3 separate regions of the Homo sapiens genome follow, and regions 1 and 2 are each linked to region 3. Evidence: promoter capture Hi-C in human tissues and cell types (Jung and others, 2019). All regions are on one chromosome and are shown on one strand. Each heading gives the region's core, a stretch centred on a gene start or on the middle of the fragment in contact. The rest is flanking DNA. Distances are from core to core; before and after follow the strand shown. Region 1 holds the start of TIMM13 (translocase of inner mitochondrial membrane 13). Region 2 overlaps GNG7 (G protein subunit gamma 7). Region 3 holds the start of CELF5 (CUGBP Elav-like family member 5).

Evidence for each region. The method cuts DNA at HindIII sites, captures the fragments that hold promoters and counts their contacts. A contact is called where the count stands out against the background at its distance.
Region 1: the fragment with the promoter of TIMM13 here is called in contact with the fragment with the promoter of CELF5 in region 3 in 2 of the 25 tissues and cell types used here (dorsolateral prefrontal cortex and stomach).
Region 2: a contact is called between a fragment that was not itself captured here and the fragment with the promoter of CELF5 in region 3, in 2 of the 25 tissues and cell types used here (small bowel and stomach).

The regions. Positions count from the first base shown.
Region 1 is chr19:2,426,336-2,429,035 of GRCh38, reverse strand. It overlaps TIMM13 (translocase of inner mitochondrial membrane 13), which reads left to right and starts at 1,450. Exons shown (of 3, transcript NM_012458.4): 1 at 1,450-1,622; 2 at 1,712-1,780; 3 at 1,990-2,700. The coding sequence starts at 1,503. The coding sequence ends at 2,088. It overlaps LMNB2 (lamin B2), which reads left to right. Exons shown (of 12, transcript NM_032737.4): 12 at 1-870. RefSeq lists enhancers at 980-1,129, 1,214-1,959, 1,960-2,700 and a silencer at 1,680-1,769. The HindIII fragment of the contact is 21,330 bases long and covers 1-2,700 here.
Region 2 is chr19:2,687,376-2,690,075 of GRCh38, reverse strand. The region is part of intron 1 of GNG7 (G protein subunit gamma 7); the gene reads left to right. Among named protein-coding and RNA genes, the nearest start is that of GNG7, 14 kb to the left of the region's middle. The HindIII fragment of the contact is 8,454 bases long and covers 1-2,700 here.
Region 3 is chr19:3,223,312-3,226,011 of GRCh38, reverse strand. CELF5 (CUGBP Elav-like family member 5) reads right to left here and starts at 1,351. Exons shown (of 13, transcript NM_021938.4): 1 at 1,014-1,351. The coding sequence starts at 1,272. RefSeq lists a silencer at 1,411-1,530. The HindIII fragment of the contact is 19,492 bases long and covers 1-2,700 here.

The DNA.
Region 1 (2,700 bases), core at 201-2,700, 800 kb after region 3:
CAGGGACAAAGTCCCCCCCAAAACCCGCAGGTCCTCATGTCCAGACGCTGCCCAGTCCTGTCCTGAAAACAGCACGCCCCAGGCCCACAGAACCCCCCACCCTACATTTGCCTTGGGTGGAGCTGGGGGTGGTCCTAGGACTGCGGGTGCCCTTAGCTGAAGGGGGTGGGGAGAAGCGTGGACTGGGCAGCCTGTGGGTAATTGGAGGTTCATTGAGAATTGAGTCTTTGGAAACACTAAGAAAATCAAATTTTTAAAAGTTATTTATGGCCTGGGAAACAATTTGCATTTGTCCCCAAATACGCTTAGCTGTGTGCCGCTTAGAACGATGCGAAACCATCCCTCTGTGTAAGCCCGTGCCGTGTGACTCGAAGCCTAGCGCCCTCCCTGCGAAGCATCAGACGCCACCCAGCCCTGGGGGGAGGCCCACGCCTGCTGGACCAACGCGGGTTCTGGGGTGCACAGCGCCAGGTTAACGCTGAAGCCTGCCCCGCTGAGCCCAGGAGCCGGGAGGCCTGCGGGCTGACCCAGAATCCGATCATGCACCTGTCCTCATGCCAGCGGCTTTGGCTGGGGTTGGTCTGAAGCCTGCACGCGGCAGTTCTTTGTTAAAGATCTGAGGGACTCCTCAGTCCTGGGGCGTCGCCGCCTGCAGCCTCTTCCAAGCCCTGCGTCCAGCGAGCGTCACAGCACAACCTGCAAAAACGGAGCTGGGCTGCAGCTGGGGCTGGCATGGACTTTCATTTCAGAGATTCGGTTTTTAAGAAGATGCATGCCTAATGTGTTCTTTTTTTTTTCCAATGATTTGTAATATACATTTTATGACTGGAAACTTTTTTGTACAACACTCCAATAAACATTTTGATTTTAGGTTCTGCCTCTGAGTTTATTCCTGAGGGGAAGCTCGAGCCGGGGCCTCTGCCCTAATGAAGCGGATGTCTAAGAAAGATCCCTCCACCCCCAAGGAAAAAGGTCACTGGCTAGTGTAGCTAGTGTAAACAGGACCCAGGCGATGCATGGGACCCTGCCCTTTTTTTTCTAGTGAGCCTCCGACGCTGTTGCACAAGCTGACTCTTCGTCACGTGATGCGACCGGGCTCCGCCCCGGCGGCAACACGCTGTATAGACGCGCCGGGTGCCTCGTGCGCATGCGCGGCAGGCCCTTCGGGACGAGCTGGAGGCAGAGCGTGAGTACAAAGTGATCGGCCTCGGCCGCACGTAGTAGCCCCCCTACTCCCCGGCCAAGTCAGGGCCTCCCTCTTCCCGCGGAGTCGCAACCACGGGTAGCTCGTGTAGGTAACGGCAGGTCCAGGCCTCCGCATGAGCGGAGGGCCCCCCGCGCGACCTTGAATGGCCCGGGCGCGCGCGGTCGTGTGGGAGTTGTAGTCCTCCGTCCCCGTCCGCGCGGACTCCGTTTCCCGTGGTGCCCCGGGCGGCCCGCTTCCGGCGCAGTTAGTTACGAGTCGGCGCACGCGGCCTCGGTCCGGTTGACTTTGCGGAGCCATGGAGGGCGGCTTCGGCTCCGATTTCGGGGGCTCCGGCAGCGGGAAGCTGGACCCAGGGCTCATAATGGAGCAGGTGAAAGTGCAGATCGCCGTGGCCAACGCGCAGGAGCTGCTGCAGGTGCGGGGCTGGCCGGGGACGGGCGCTGGGGGCGACAGGGCCACCCCTGGGGGCCGACGTCGCGGCTAAAGCCTCGCGTGTCTCCACAGAGGATGACGGACAAGTGTTTCCGGAAGTGTATAGGGAAACCTGGGGGCTCCCTGGACAACTCCGAGCAGGTGAGACCCGCGGAGGTTCGGGGCAAGGGTCGCGAGGGCCTAGATTCGAGGGGGGAGGTGTCTGCGCGTGCGCAGACTAACGGGGAGGTGCGACGGAGTGGTCACTGCACGTGCGTAGTCTGCAGCCCGGGCGTCCTGGAGCCGGGGTCAGGGCGGTCCCCGGGGCCGCGAAGTCCCGAGCTGAGCCGTGCGCCCCTCCGCTCCCGCAGAAGTGCATCGCCATGTGCATGGACCGCTACATGGACGCCTGGAACACCGTGTCTCGCGCCTACAACTCGCGGCTGCAGCGGGAACGAGCCAACATGTGACCGGCGAGCGCGGGCCACCCCACCCTGTTCATTTCCATAAACGTGCTTTGAGAGGCGGGGTCCGCATGTACGTACTGCCTGCCCGGGGCTTAGGAGGGTGGCACCGGTGCTGGGACACACGGGACTGTGTCCTCGCCACCCCCCGCCCTGCCCCCTGCCAGCCAGTGCAGCTTGGATCTCGGGGGTGTGGGGCCCTGTGCCTTCCTGAAGTGCTGGCAGCCCAGTGGCACCTCCTTCAGGCCTTTGGGGTATTCCCCTAGTGTGCCCAAGTCAGCCTCATATTCTGGGCGGACAGCTTGTCTGGACTTCGGAGTTGGGGGTGGTCAGACACCACAGGAGCTGTCACCTCCTGCGGATGGGCAAATAAATTGGTGGAGGACGGAGAGAAACCTCTTTATTTCCCTCCTGAGGGGTCTCTGGGAAGAGGTGACGCGTGTCCCTGGAACCCCAGCTCGGAGGGTCTCAGCCTCCCCTGGGTTGGGAGAAGTCCATCTTTCCCCTTAGTGCCACCGGGCTGCTGAGTCACGAGGAATGTGTTGCTGCTGCCACCCCTGCCCCAAAGGCTAAGGGGGACAGCCTTCCCCTTGTCAGGGCTTGCTTTGACCCTGCTTC
Region 2 (2,700 bases), core at 53-2,552, 540 kb after region 3:
AAAGTCAAAGGAAGCCCTGCTTCTACCCGCCGCCAAAAGAAGCAAAAAACAAAAGTCAAAGAAAAGGCCATGACACATGACAATTATATGGCATTCAGATTTTAGTGTCCAGAAATAATGTTTTATTGGCACACTGCTCTGTGTATTCTGCTACCATGGTGTAGTTAAGTCGTTGCCGTAGAGAGTGGCTCCACCGCAAGGCTGAAAACACTGGGTATCTGGACTCTTACCGAAAAAGCGTGTTGGCCCTCGAGTCCATCTCGCACGCTTTATGCATGGGAAAACTGAGGTCTGGAGGTTTCACGAGTTAGTGGTCATGCTGGGACTTGATCTTGGAACTTTGTACTTTAGCATTTGTCATGTCATTTCAGCCTCTGTGTTGTCAGAGCTCTAACAGTTAACTTCAGAGAATTGCATCGAATATGGTTTTTTTTTTTTTTTTTTTTTTTTTTTGAGTTGGAGTCTCACTCTGTAGCCCAGGCTGGAGTGCAATGGCGCCATCTCAGCTCACTGCAGCCTCCGCCTCCCAGGTTCAAGTGATCCTCCTGCCTTAGCCTCCTGAGTAGCTGGGATTACAGGCGTCCACCACCACACCCGGCTATTTTTTGTATTTTTAGTAGAGACGGGGTTTCACCATGATGGCCAGGCTGGTCTCGAACTTCTGACCTCAGGTGATCCACCCGCCTTGGCCTCCCAAAGTGCTGGGAGGCCCACCGAGCCCGGCCCAAATGTGGTCTTGTTAGGAGCGTTTATTCCTGTAGCCTCCATAATGAGAAGGGCTTAATGATTTGGGAACAATTTTATATAATTATTTTTTTTCCCCTATAACACGGTGCCATGCATAGTATGATTGGCATTTTTTTCCCCCTTTTTTTTTGCATTATTTTTATTTTTGTTTATTTTTTTCTTATTTATTTATTTATTGTATGTATTTATTATGTTGGGGCAAACATAATTGTGGTCTTTGCCATTAAAAGTAATATTTTTTAAATTTACATTTACATTTTTTTTTGAGACAGAGTCTTACTCTGTCGCCCAGGCTAAGTGCAGTGGAGTGATCATGGCTCACTGTAGCCTCCAACTCCTGGGCTCAAGCGATCCTCCCACCTCAGCCTCCTGAGTAGCTGGGACCACAGGCACGCAACCCCGTGCCTGGCTAATTTTTGTTTTATTGTAGAGATGAGGTCTCGCTATTTTGCCTAGGCTGGTCTCGAACTCCTGAACACAAGTGATCCTGCCACCCCGGACTCCCAAAGTGTTAGGAGGACAGACGGGAGCCACTGTGCCCGGCTAACAATGGGTTCATTTCTCTCAACTCCACACTTTATTCAAATGTCATTAATCTTCCCCTAATGTCCTTTCCTGCCCCAGGACCCATCTAGAATCCCACGTGACATTTAGCCGGCTCGTCTCCGGGGGTTCTTCCAGGTTGGGACCATGTCTTAGATGTTCGTTACCTCTCGTGACCTGGACGGTCTTAGGGGGACCGGCTGGGTATTGTGCAGACTTACTTCTGATCTAGGTTTGTCAGATATTTCTCTCGTGATCAGACCGGGGTTACGGGTTTCGGGAAAGAACACGTAGGGGTGAGGTGCCCTGTTGCTCTCTCCCTGCTGGGGATCCTTGAGACCCTGGTGACTTCCTACTGGTGCTGTTAACCTGGTTCTCCCAGCCCAGGTGGCCTTAGCCCACCTACCAGCTACTCTGAGGTCATTCTTGCTGAGGGAACTCCCCACTTCCCCAGAGCACTGACACCGACTCCATCCTTCGTACGGCAAACTTTGCTTTTCATCTTTGCATCATGATTTCTTTTTTCTTTTGTTGAGACGGAGTCTCGCTCTGTCGCCCAGGCTGGAGTGCAGTGGCGCGATCTTGGCTCACTGCAAGCTCCACCTCCTGGGTTTACACCATTCTCCTGCCTCAGCCTCCCGAGTAACTGGGACTACAGGCACCCGCCACCATGCCCGGCTAATTTTTTGTTATTTTTAGTAGGGACGGGGTTTCACCGTGTTAGCCAGGATAGTCTCGATCTCCTGACCTTGTGATCTGCCCAGCTCGGCCTCCCAAAGTGCTGGGATTACAGGCGTGAGCCACCGCGCCCGGCTATTTTATCTGGAGGCAGAGTTTTGTTCTTGTTGCCCAGGTTGGAGTACAGTGGCACGATCTCAGCTCACTCAGGTTCAACTGATTCTCCTGCCTCAGCCTCCCAAATAGTTGGGATTACAGGTGCGTGCCACCTTGCCCGGCTAATTTTTTGTATTTTTAGTAGAGATGGGGTTTCGCCGTGTTGGCCAGGCTGGTCTCGAACTCCTGACCATGTGATCTGCCTGCCTCGGCCTCCCAAAGTGCTGGAATTACAGGCGTGAGCCACCGCGCCCGGCATCATGATTTAAACTTCTTGGCCAGGCTGGTGGCTTACTCCTGTCATGCCAGCACTTTTTTTTGTTTGTTTGTTTTTTGAGATGGAGTTTCACTCTTGTTGCCCAGGCTGGAGTGCAATGGTGCGATCTCGGCTCACCGCAACCTCTGCCTCCCGGGCTCAAGCGATTCTCCTACCTCAACCTCCCAACTAGCTGGGATTACAGGCATGGGCCACCATGCCTGGCTAATTTTGTATTTTTAGTAGAGGCAGGGTTTCTCCATGTTGGCCAGGCTGGTCTCGAACTCCTGACCTCAGGTGATCCACCCGCCTCGGCCTCC
Region 3 (2,700 bases), core at 102-2,601:
GGGGATACAATTGCCGGACACCCCCACCCGGGATGCCATCGGAGGGAGAATCCAGTGGGAGGGAGGCAGACAGGCCTGAGGCCGCCCACGCCTCCCTCCTCCTCCCTGTCCACCCCAGAATTTGGGCTCTGCCCAGATGGACACGTCCAAGCTCATTGTCTTGGGCCTGAGACCCCAACACATTGCTAAGAGGCTCGGCCAGTTTCAACTTGAGCCCAAGGTGGAGGCGGGGGAGGGGGAGGGCAGAGAAATGGAGGAGAGAATGCTGATCCACGCGGAGGTGGTGGGGCCAGGGGGTGGGCAGCGACGGGAGCCTCTCCGCCACCCGAGGCAGGCGAGGCGGGCGCGTCCCCCCGAGCCGGGCGCCCCCAACCCGTCTTCCTTTGTAGTTACCGATTAGCCTGGGGTCCTGGGCATCCGTGTCCCCCGCGGCCGGACCTGCCCCGCCGGCCTGGCTTTGTGAAAATAACCAAAGCAATGGAGTCCGCAGGTGCAAACTTCCCCGACGGGGCCTGGGGAGGCTGAATGAATGGGGGTGGGGGGGCAGGGAGGGGTGCCGGCGTTCCCGAGGCTCCCCTGGCAAACGGGCAGGAAAGAGTGGGGTGAGGGAGGGAGGAAGGGGTGGGGGTCTGGGGGATGGAAGGGTGAGGGAGGGAGGGAGGGAGAGAGAGGGTGCTGTGGGGGGAAGGATGAGAGGTCGAGGGAGATGGGAGAGAAGAGAAAGGGAGAGAGAGAGGGAGAGAGAGAGGGAGAGAGAGAGGAGATGCCGGAAGGTGGGGAGGGAGGGAGAGGGGGCGGAGGAGGGGAGGGGGCCCGCTCGGATCTGTCAGCTGCACCCCCAGAGAGGGGAGGAGGGGTGGGTGGGAGGGAGGGGGTAAGAACCGATGCTCCGGCAGAGGCAGGCAGAGGAGGGAGGTGAGCAGAGGAGGGATGGTGATGGGGGAGAGAAGATGCCGGAAGGTGGGGTGGGAGGCGGAGGGAGGGGGAGAGGGGGGAGGGGGCCGGGCGCCCACCTTTGTGCATCCCCGTGTAGGGGTCTTTGAGCACCGTGAGCTCGTAGATGCGGCCGAACTGCTCGAAGAGCGGCTTGAGGTCCTTCTCGTCCAGGTGCCGCGGGATCTGGCCCACGAAGAGTTTGATGGCGTCCAGGTCCTTCATGCCGTCGGGCTGCCCCCCGGGGGGCTCGGGCCCGCTGCTGCCCACGGGCGAGGGCCGCGGCTGCAGGAGCTGCTGCTGCTGCCGGCGCGCCTCGCTCTCCGTCAGGCGGGCCATGGCGGGCGCGGGACCGAGCCGGCGGCGGCGGCGGCGGGCGGCGGGCGGACTCGCAGCTGGAGCGGCGGCCGCGCCTCCCGCCTCCCTCCCGGGCCCCCGCGCCCTCCTCCCGCCCGCGCCCGCCCCGGCATCGGGACCACAAAGGCGGCTCCGCAGCGGCCCCTGGCGGCCGCGCCGCGCGGGGCAGCCGGCGCCTCCCCGCATCCCCGGGCCGCGGGGGGAAACTGAGGCCGGAAGGCCCCGGGCCCCGCCTACGGGTGGGCGAGGGCGGAGCTGCGGGCGGGACGGGCCTTAGCCGGCTTCCCAGGGGTCCCCGCCGGCTCCCGCGGAGGGCATCGGCCGGAAGAATGTCAAAAGTTGCTGGGATAATGTAGGGGGCTTGTCGTTGAAAGCGCCCGTGATCCTTAAAGTAGGTAACTCATCAATAATATTAATAACACTAATAATATGGCTGGGCGCGGTGGCTCACGCCTGTCATCTCAGCACTTTGGGAGGCCGAGGTGGGTGGATCACTTGAGGTCAGGAGTTCGAGACCAGACTGGCTAACACGGTGAAACCCCGTCTCTACTAAAGAATACAAAAATTAGCTGGGCTCGGTGGCGGGGGGTGCCTGTAATCCCAGCTACTCGGGAGGCTGAGGCAGGATAATCACTTGAACCCAGGAGGCGGAGGTTGCAGTGAGCCAAGATTGTGCCATTGTACTCCAGCCTGGGCAACAAGAGCAAAACTCCGTCTTGGTAAAAAAAAAAAAAAAAAACACCTAATAATAACAACACTAATAATAATTAATCAAGAGCAAGACAAAGTGCTCCCACTAATCACGACAGCACAGGAGAAATGGTAAAAGTATCTTCCAGTTCTATAGGGTGCTTACACATAGAAAGTGTCCTTGGCCCTTTAAGTATGTAACTCATCAATAATGTCATCAACAAGGAGGGAGACTGGCTCGCACTGATAATGACAGGATAGGAGAAATACTGAAGTATCTCCCAGCTCTAAAGTGCCCGTGATCCTTTACGTATGAAACTCATCAATAATATTAATAAAAATAATAATACGTGCTGGCCGTGGTGGCTCACACCTGTAATCCCAGCACTTTGAGAAGCAGAGTCAGGAGGACCACTTGAGCCCAGGAGTTGGAGACCAGCCTGAGCAACATAGTGAGACGCCATTGCTGTAAAAAATAAGAAAACAGGCCAGGCACGATGGCTCACACCTGTAATCCCAGCACTTTGGGAGGCTGAGGCAGGTGGATCACCTGAGATCAGGAGTTCGAGACCAGCCTGATCAACATGGAGAAAACTCTGTCTCTACTAAAAACACAAAAATTAGCCAGGCATGGTTGTGCATGCCTGTAATCCCAGCTACTCAGGAGGCTGAGGCAGGAAAATCGCTTGAACCCGGGAGGCGGAGATTGCAGTGAGCCGA